Regions from separate parts of the Homo sapiens genome. Here region 2 is linked to region 1. The links are contacts of gene promoters, found by promoter capture Hi-C in blood cells and fetal thymus (Javierre and others, 2016). All regions are on one chromosome and are shown on one strand. The core of a region is centred on a gene start or on the middle of the fragment in contact, and the rest is flanking DNA. Distances in the headings are between cores, read along the strand shown.

The links. Contacts are between HindIII fragments. The CHiCAGO score rates a contact against its expected background, and 5 or more counts as called.
Region 2: a contact is called between the fragment with the promoter of SLC35B3 here and the fragment with the promoter of TMEM14B in region 1, in 1 of 17 cell types (non-activated CD4 T cells). The highest score is 5.2, in non-activated CD4 T cells.

What each region holds. Positions count from the first base shown.
Region 1 is chr6:10,746,332-10,751,424 of GRCh38, forward strand. It overlaps TMEM14B (transmembrane protein 14B), which reads left to right and starts at 1,474. Exons shown (of 6, transcript NM_030969.5): 1 at 1,474-1,550; 2 at 2,871-2,937; 3 at 3,291-3,367; 4 at 4,802-4,903. The coding sequence starts at 2,915. TMEM14B-DT (TMEM14B divergent transcript) reads right to left here and starts at 1,253. Exons shown (of 2, transcript NR_187231.1): 1 at 1,130-1,253. RefSeq lists an enhancer at 1,034-1,083 and silencers at 1,204-1,433, 1,268-1,488, 1,444-1,503. The HindIII fragment of the contact is 12,296 bases long and covers 1-5,093 here.
Region 2 is chr6:8,432,846-8,437,897 of GRCh38, forward strand. SLC35B3 (solute carrier family 35 member B3) reads right to left here and starts at 2,700. Exons shown (of 10, transcript NM_001370479.2): 1 at 2,498-2,700. It overlaps LOC100506207 (a long non-coding RNA gene), which reads left to right and starts at 2,778. Exons shown (of 5, transcript NR_038980.1): 1 at 2,778-3,333. RefSeq lists enhancers at 2,328-2,467, 2,440-2,981, 2,478-2,537, 2,738-2,907, 2,848-2,927 and 1 more. The HindIII fragment of the contact is 10,856 bases long and covers 1-3,344 here.

The sequences.
Region 1 (5,093 bases), core at 224-2,723:
GTGAAGAGCTAAGCTATCTCCTAACAACGTTAATGCCAACTAGAAATATTCCCAAACACAAATCATTGATTGTTTTACTCTGGTACTAATTGAAATAGAGCAGAAACCAATTTCTTTAATTTATTTTATGACATGTTTTGATGGACTTTACCTACACAGAAGAGCTATGTGTTCTGGTTGAGGAACGACACTGCAAGAAGCAGCATATGGTAGAATTAAGGACGCAGGCTTTGACATTAGACCTTACTTTAAATAATAGCTCTACCAGTGACCAGGACTGTAGGTAATTTAATTCTCTGAGGTTCAGCCTCTTCAAGTATAAGGTGGGGAAGGGCTCGAGGATCATGGTGGATGATCCTAATTAAGGTTTGAGGCTTGCACCTGCATAGGGAAGAATGAGTCCCTAAAGCCATTCCCTGCTGGTTAAGACAAGTCTCATTAATTGTTCAGGAAAGTCTTCAATTAAATTGAAGGTCTGGCATACTGCAATTCCTGCAAGTTCTTAGTTATTATCAGCTCTGGCTGGTTAGAAGCAGCTATGATAAACACGGGCTTCAATTTAGCTATCTGGAAGGTAGGTGCTGCTGCAAGTGGAAAGTTTGTCTTTAAGAATATGCGCTGCAATTTGCTTTATTCACTGATGATTATATTGATCGGAGTTGTCTATGTTGATACTTGTAGGGGATGAAGGAGAGGGAGAAGTCAACGATGACAGCAAATTTTAGTGTAGAGCAACTGAGCGAATGGTGGTGCAGGAAACACAGAAGAGGAGCGGCTCGGAAGTGGGAATGGAGATAACATCATACTGTGGACATTCGGAATCCACAGAGCTGCGTGGAAATCAGATTTAACTTGCTCTCTCTCCCCATTTAAGATGCTTCTCAAGTAGCCTCACTCCCTAAAACAAACGGATATTTGGCATTGCGCCACATTATTCTGCAGCTGCCATATTTTCTTGCAGGTGGAAGGCAGGCCCTTCCTGGTGTAAACAAACAAGATCGGGCCAGAGTGACAATCCTCCCTGATGGCCCGCACCTGGTTTATACCCTCTATTAATGGGGTCCTTCAAAATCATCAGATGCCCTCCTCCCGCAGCGGTGGCCTCCACCTCTGGCCTGGCCCAGCTTACGTGGTCCAGCTTGTGCAAGATCCAATTCCAACTCCGGGTTTCCGGCTTTTGGCCACTCAGGATTGGACCTGGGACTGGAGCTGGTCGGCCCTGCAGGTGCTGGGCCTGGGGACTGAGGAAGCACAGAGATTCCCCGCCCGGTTCCCCGCCAACGGCGCTAGCCGCGATGCCCCGCCTCACTCCCCGCCCCCGGGATGCAGGGCGCGTGCTGGTAATCCGCGGCTCAAGCCCCGCCCCCACTGTCCCCATTCTCCGCTCACCTCTCTCCAAGGACACTGCGCACGCGCCACGACGTCCCGCCTTTCTCCCCGCCCTGCCGCGGCCCCGGGGCGCAGCGCGCACGCAATCGCGTTTCCGGAGAGACCTGGCTGCTGTGTCCCGCGGCTTGCGCTCCGTAGTGGACTCCGCGGGCCTTCGGCAGGTCGGTGCAGGTCTTTGGAGAGTATTGTTTTTATTTTCTGCCACTTTTAACTTTTAGGGATTATTTAGGAGTTTCACGGCCGTCTGCTTTTCGTCCCCCCGATTCAGCGGGCCTTTATGCCGTGTGGTCGGTGCTTTTCTCCTTGGGTATTTTCTGCTTGTCTTAAAAGAGGCTGTGGATGCTCGGAGCACCTGAGCTCCTGAGGCAAAGGCTTACCCTTGTAGCATAGTGTTGCCTCGTTTCCTGGTGGTTTTGTTGCTCCAGCTCTTTAAAAGCCTCCCTTACTCAGTGCCGCCTCGAGTTAAGAACTGTGGGCAAGATCCCAAGCCCGCTGCCCTTCCCCGTTTTATGGGAAATTAATTCTTTCTTTTTTTGGGGGGTGGGGAGGGGTTCTCGCTGTGTCGCCCAGCCTGGAGTGCAGTAGCCTGAATATGTCTTATTGCAGCCTCTGCCTCCTGGGCTCAAGCCATCCTCCCACCTCAGCCTCCCAAGTAGCTGGGATTACAGGTGCATGCCATCATGCCCGATTTGTGTGTGTGTGTGTGTGTTTTAATAGAATATGGGTTTCACCATGTTGACCAAGCTGTTCTCGAACTCCTAACCTCAGGTAATCCGCCTGCCTGGGCCTCCCAAAGTACTGGGATTACAGGCGTGAGCCACTTTGCCTGGCCTAATTCTTTAAACAGAATAAACGGCGTATGCATTGCTTTCCATCTTGTTAGGTTCACTGCATACAGAATACTTTTCTGTAAGAAAATAGGAGCTGTTTTTCCAAGGGTGCAATGTCACATGTGATTCTGACTTGAGTTTCCGTGTATTTTACCCTCCCCTTCTGCCCTCCTAACGAGAACTGTGAGTTGGATGCAGAAGTTTCTAAAAAAAAAAATTGAGTATTGAAATTGGCTGTTGCATCAGTGAAGAAAAGCAACATCCCTACCACCCCTCAAAAGAGACATTAAAGTAGTTGGATTAAGGGCACGGGAGTATTTGCTTTCCGATTTAGTGATAATGTGAGTGCTTAATGAAATGACTAACACATTCCCTGATTATAGAGCTGGTCAGTGGATCTTGCTGAGTTTCCTGTGGACCTATGTGAAATGATCGGCATCTGTTCAGGGTTTACTAGGTGCTAAGCACCTTTACATGTGACATCCATTGAATGCTCACAACACCCCCAGGAAATTGGTACCAGTGTTATCCTCATGGTACAGTGAAGGATACTGAGACTTAGGTTGCATAGCCTGCAGGTTGGACACACTTCTTTCTGACTGCTGGGGAGCTGTGCTTTTAACCACTGCTGATCCGGCTTGTTTTCCCCAGATGCAGGCCTGGGGTAGTCTCCTTTCTGGACTGAGAAGAGAAGAATGGAGAAGCCCCTCTTCCCATTGTGAGTAGACAGTAAATGGTTAGAGAGTAGCCAGGAGCTTCTGGAAACCAGAGTTCCTTTCCTCAGCTGAAAAGAACCCTAAGAGTAGACTGCCTGGGATGGCGTGCGGGATGGGAGGATCACTGGACCTGTGGGCCAGAAACTTGGGTTTGAGTCCCAGCTCTAGCTTTGCTTAGTTGTGTGACTCTCAGAAAGTCATCCAACCTCTGTGGTGCTTATTTTCAGTGATAGTACCTGTGGGCACATAGGACCTGTGGGGAATGATTACCTTTTAGCCCCATCCTATGACAATATGGTTTGTTTTTAAATCCAGGTTAGCACTGACTTCTCACTGACTTCTCTTGTGTTTTCAGAGTGCCTTTGCATTGGTTTGGCTTTGGCTACACAGCACTGGTTGTTTCTGGTGGGATCGTTGGCTATGTAAAAACAGGTAGGGTTTTGTTGTTACTTAGCCTCTTAACATCTTCACGTTGTTCCAGTGAAATGTGAGTGCCTGTGTCCCTGAGAAGCAATCTCGTTTGACTCAGCTTTGCTGTAGGTCCCCAAGCTGGAGTGCAGGCTTCCTTGTCAGTCTTGCAGCTCCTGCCCTTGCCTTTTGCTTATCTGGTGAAGCTGAGCCAGGCCTCTTGTGGAATTACTTATTTTTGCCTCTTTATCTAAAGGTAGGCAGGGGTGGTTGTAGTTTGTTATTATCATTGACTGCCATTCATCAGCCATGACCCCCAAGTGCCATCTCTGGGCTTAAGTAGGAGTCAACCTCTGGCCTACACAGACTGGTATTTTGAAGTTTCCTCATTAGGCCAGGCAGGGGTGTGTCAGTGGCTGTGCTTGTTTTTGCCCCCTAGTCCTTGCCTGCATTCCCACCCCAATCCCTGCACCAGACTTCTTATTCTCCTGATCTTCTATTTTTTTTTTAACTGCCTGGCCCTATTTCCTTCTGCTTTTGTGATTTGCTGGAGGTCCTGCCTGTACACAATTCCAGCCCTTCATGGTTGATGAGGCCTGATTAGAAAGTGTTGTACTTGAGCGAGTTAGAGAAAACGCCACACTTTGAGACGAATTAAGAGTCTGTTTATTTAGCTGGGGCCTAAAAGACGGCTAACACTCAAAGTTCTCTCGGCCTTGAAGAAGGGGCTAGATTTTCTTTTATACTTTGGTTTAGAATGGGGTGGGGGGGGGGTCTAGTTAAAACAATTTTACTGAAGTAAAGTAGGCAAAAAAGTTAAAAGGATAAATGGTTACAGGAAAGTAAACAGTTCCAGGTGCAGGGGCTTTAAGACTATTACAAGGTGATGGACGCGGGGCTTTGGGCATTATCAATCGGACGAATTCCTGGGAACTGCGGATATAGCTCGCCACAGTATCTTATCAGTTAATTGCATTCTTGGATGTGCTGGGAGTCAGCTTGCACAAGTTAAGTCCTTGAGGACGGGGCTGCCAGTGAAAGAGCCAAGATGGAGTCTGTCTGGCTCTCTTAGCTAAGGAAGAGTCAATTCAGGTGGAAACAAGGCTAGGTGATTAAAGGAAAGGGAGAGTCTAAAAACAGGGTTAGTAAAAACAAGGTTAGGCATTACAAAAGAAGGCCTAGTCATAGTTCTGTCTAAGGAGGGAAGATGGCCTTCTTTCCTTTCCTTAGATGGAAGTGCCCTGCCTATTAGAGGAGAGAAAAATGGGGTGGGAAGACCCTGACTTCTCTGAGAAGATAGCACACTCTCCTTAACGCCTTCCTGCTTGAGTCCACCTTGGCTGTGAGCTGTGTTGAGAGTTCTTTGTGCTGTCCTTTGTAGGGCAGGAGGTCTGGTGGATTCCGTTAGTGAAATAAGTGCCTGACATTACAATGCAAGCTGCGTTTGCTTCCTTCTAGGCAGCGTGCCGTCCCTGGCTGCAGGGCTGCTCTTCGGCAGTCTAGCCGGCCTGGGTGCTTACCAGCTGTATCAGGATCCAAGGAACGTTTGGGGTTTCCTAGGTATGTCTGCTTCAGCGTCTCCTTAGGGCAATCATGTATCTGGAATATTCTTTTCCAAAAGACCCTGGTTTGGTGGGATGGAGCGAGTTCTTCCCACTTAATTTACGACAGTTTCACTGCTTCTCCAAGTCCAAGTCCTCAAAGTTTTAAAATAGGAGAAGGGTGGTGGGAATTGTCCTGGTTCCTGTTT
Region 2 (5,052 bases), core at 1,450-3,949, 2.3 Mb before region 1:
TTTCCAACGCTGCCTTCTCTCCTGAGATCCAGAGCTCTACGTCTAAATGCTTCTTTGATACCTCTACTCATAAGCTCTGCTGGCACTTCATATTTAAAATGGCCAAAGCTGATTATTTTCCCCTCAAAACAAATCTACTGTTTGTTCCTATATTCCCAATCTCACTTAACAGTACCTAGTATGAAACACAAGCTAAAAATCTGGGAGTCATCTTAAGAATCTTTCCTTTTCCTCACATTCTATATTTTGCCAAGATTCCTGTTAACTCTACCTCTATAACTATATCTAATATCTGTTTCGGACCCTACTCCATCAGGCAGCCATTTTCTCTTGCCTAGATTACGAGACTGTTTATAATCAATTCTTCCCTTTCTGACCCATCTGTCACATGGCTCAACGTGAAGTCTGATCATGCTGCATCCATGAATAAGGCCTCGAAGTTAAAAACGAGTTGATGTCCTGGACTCAATCATATTATACATATTTTTCAAATTCCTAAATGATAATGGTATAGCTTTTTCGTTTTTATACTTGTTTCTCCTAAAAGCCTATGAAATCCTTAAGGCAAGAGATATCTTCCTATGATGTTCTGGCACATAACAAAAATGTAAGATTAAATGAAGGACTCTACCACAGTTTAGCAAGCACCATTTATTTAATCAACGTTATTCAGCTCCTTTCCAACACTTTACCACTTCTAATACACTTCTTGGCAACTTTATGTGCTGCAGATCTAGGCCATATGTGCAGAATGAAATCTCTCTAGCACTGTCTTTTCTACATGTATGCCAAAATACCGACATTGCTACTGAAACTCCCCACAAAACATTTGAAATGAACATGAAAATAAATTTGTTTCCTCTGCCTGAGGCATCAGTCTCATAAAACTTGCCCACCAAAGCCTTGCATTTAGAATGCTGTTTTATTAATAAGAACATCACTGGTGAGAAAGTGTGACTGATAAAGACCTCTGATACCTAATAACTGTGATCATTGGGGAATGTCTGCCATATCCCTTCCACTTCAAACATTAATGACTGATACTAACCATCATCTAAAAAAAAAAATGGGCCAAACTCCTTGTGATGCAAGGAGCAAAAATGAAGCATGGAATTAAAATTAGTTTTCAGACTAAATGATCAACATTGTGCTTTGCTTTTGAAGCTCACAGTAATCAGTGAAACTAAAATATATATATATATATTTTAAAAATCACAGGTGTGTATAATTGCCTGAGGCCTCTTCCTAAATTCAACACAGATATTCAACTTCAACTGCTAAAATGGAATAAAAAGGTAGCATTTCCGGCATACAATGTATATTTAAAAATTAAAATTAGTGATAATGTTGAGTTACAATGACCTATTGAAGTCACAATTATTTCAGTTTATTTTTGAGTTTTCCGACCTGAAGGACAAAAGTCCCACACCAAAAAAAGGTAGAATATGAAAAAAAAGTCATTACGGTGTCATTAACCTGAAAAAACGTGATTTTAACTATACTTTGCCACACTCAACGTTACAAATAAAAGAATCTTACCATGCCATTATGCCTTGATTAACTGCGCTCCGGAATCAATCATGGCCTATGGTGTACGATTATAAAACAGAAAAAACAAAGTTCCATCTCATTTCTTTGTACACACATCATTACACAAAGGTGGAGAAACCCTGTGCTAATGTTTGAAGACTATTCTTTTTTTTTTCCAAGAGAAAAAGTTAACACTAGGACTTTATATATTAAGTAATTAAGTAAAAATAACGCTGTCTAAATTATTTTGAAATGCTGCCTCTCTTCCAAGTTCCAAACTATCTCAATTCACTTAGAAAAACGTTTAATCAAAAAACAATTCTAGGCTTCTGATATCCTAATGTAGAAAAAATGCAGATACTCAACACTTAAGATTTTGTTAGCGCACCAAATCATTCCATCTTTTACTTTCAATATTCCTTAAATAATAAAAAGACGGGAGAGATAATTCAGTTGCAAAGACTGGAGGAAACTTGCAGAACTTCTAGTGGAAGTTTATGCCATAAACTTAATAGCCCAGCCAGAACAATCACATTCTACTGCAAGCCAAATGGAGAAAAGAGTACCTTGGAGTGCCCCTATTTAATAAACACGGAACGAGGAAACAGTTAACTGTAAATACAGTCTAGAGGTATCCAGGTGACTGACAGTTCTCCAGAGACCCCGAGAACAGCGTAAAAGACCCCTTGAGGTCACCTCACCCCTGCGAGTCCACGGATTGGGACCTGAGGGAGTTCTCGCCAGCCCGAGGGCGAAAAACGGGCGAGGAGGAACAGATGCTCCTCCCTGGAAACCGCCCGGCCGGTTTCCGCTCTTTCAAAAAAGGGAATCACCCGTTTCTTCCATCCCGACCTCATCCATTCCTCGAACGCTCCTTCTGGATGAGGAAGATGGGCAGTGTCAAGGTTTTCTGGAGGAGAGGAGATCTGGGTCCCAAACACAGGAAAGGCCCCGAAGGCACGCGTACCCCAAGGCCGGTATGTCACCCGGAAGGGTGACGGCAGCCTGCGTGGCGTCTGAGCTAGACGGAGCATCTCCCCCTCCCCTGGTCCGTCGCCATCACCTCCTCTTCCTCCTCCTCCTCGCCCACTCCTGCACTTTCCACCGCGGCGGTCGCCTCCCCGGAAAGCACTCTCAACTCCGGCGCCCGCAGGCCACTTCCGCCTATGTGTCCCTGCGCGCGTGCGCAGACGCGTGGCCCCGCCTCCCGACAGGCCTGTGTGGCCGGTGGCGGGCGGGCCGTTACCTCCCGCGCATGCTCTATGGGGTAGAGACGCTAGGCCGGCACTGCCTAGGTGGGCCGGGCGGTGCGAGGGTCGCCTTTCAGCCTTTACCTCTACCCACTGAAATGGAGTAGGTCGGTGAGCGCCGATCTGCTGGAGAATCTCATTATCCCATCGGCGCTCTGCCTGCTCCTGGCCTCCAAGCCTCTGAAGCCCCTCGGGTTTCAGCTGCCGGCTACCCTCGAGCCCGTGGTGCCCACGAGAGAGGCGACTTTACGTCAGCGGCCCTGGGCTGAGATTTGAGAACGCGACCAAGTGGAGAATGTTGGAGCCAGATTTTAAAATCCTTGTCTTCCTTCTGCGTGCTACTTGATCTAAATGAGATACGGCAAAGTCACAGAACCTGTTTTTATGTTTTTGCCTGATTCATACGGGCTTCTCCGGTGAAGATGGGCCTGAAGTAACGCTTGGGTTGCTTCTGACGTTATAACTCATCCTGTAGCTGCAGCAACCGTGGTCCTTGCAACCTCATAAAAATGTTGCCAGCATTGTTTCGATAGTGCTGCTTAATTCTTGGAAGGTAAATCTCAAAGCTTGAGGACCAGCCATCAAAACTTTTGTAAAAGGTTTTCCCCGCGTTTAGGGCCTCATCCATCACCACTGAGATGTAATAACGTAAAAACCAAGACGGTTTGGGGATGAGCTGTTTTCAGAGAATAATTAAGGAAAATATTACTGTAACGAAGATGGACAATTTTTGAAAGCATGCCTTGAATACCAGAAAGGGATGAATTGGATTAATATGTATGTTAGAATCCAGTCAGTTATGGACAACTTTTAAAATTTTACAGGCACTCTTCAGAAAGGGTAGCATTTGTGTCTTGTATTGGGATCGAGGGTTTGTAAGAAAGCAAGGCACCTACTTTGGTGGTGAGAAAAAAAGGTCTGGGTAGACATTTTCGTTTAATACTTGCCAACGTTGTTAGGCTGGTGTTAGCAACACTTAGGAATGTTGGAATTAAGGCTTAGAGAACTTAAATTTCCTAAAGAGATAGTAAATGACAAAACCTTTCAGTGATGCCATATCGTCACTGTATAATGTGAATTTAGTACTACTGTTAGCCATTTATATGGTGGTTATTTATCAAGTATTTATTAAATGGGCATATGTATAGCTCATATCGTAAACTATGCGTATGAGCTCCCTGTCCTGAAGAAATTAGGGGTTTCCATGAGAAAGTAAATGGCAGTATAAAACAACTTAAGGTACAAGAGGTGTTACAAGGTACCATCTGCTCATGCCTGGACAATTGCAGTAGCCGTGAGCATAGCTTTCTGCATTCCCTTTATTTCTCTACATAGTTGCATTCAGCAGCTGGAGTGATCCCATTAGAACCTGAATATGCCACTCCTCTGTGCAGAACCTTTTAGCGGTTTACCATTTTACTCAGATTAAAGTTCAAAATTCTTACCCTGACTTTTAAGACTGAACTTATTCTTGATGGATCACATCCAAGCTACACTTCAGAGCTTTTCTAATTGCCCCCAAGCACAGCAAGCATCAGTGCTTTGTAGCTGTTGTTCCTTCTGCATGGAACACTGCCCTCTCAGATGTCCACAGAGCTTGCTTCCTCATTTTTTTCCAGTCACTGCTCAAATGTCACCTGGCTCTTCTCTGACTACCATGTCAGTGAAATATTTTTACATGTCAAATGTGAAATGTAGGAGAGACTATCTGGAGTAGTACTTATTATAGAGTAGGTGTTTAATAAATATCGACTCTCTTACAATACTTCCCATTTACTCCTGTGATAACCACGTGGTAAACAAAATTAAAGACTTGCAGCTATGAATTGTTTTTTATTGACTGATTGACTGATTGAGGCAGAGGCTCACTCTGTCGCTCAGGCTGGAGTGCAGTGGCACATCTCAGCTCACTGCAACCTCTGCCTCCTGGGTTCAAGCCATTCTCCTGTCTCAGCCTCCCGAGTAGCTGGGATTATAGGCGCCTGTCACCATGCCCGGCTAATTTTTGTATTTTTAGTAGAGATGGGGTTTCACCTTATTGACCAGGCTGGTCTCGAACTCCTGACCCCAAGTGATCCACCCACCTCAGCCTCCCAAAGTGCTAGGATTATAAGCGTGAGCCACTGCGCCTGGTCCTATGAATTGGTTTTAAATTTTTAAGAAATTAATAATTCTGTAGTATCAGAAACCTTTGGTGTCTTGATTCACATCTTCTGAGCATCACCTCTCATTTCTGACTTGGTTGTGGGGGGCAGTTTCATGCAATCTTACA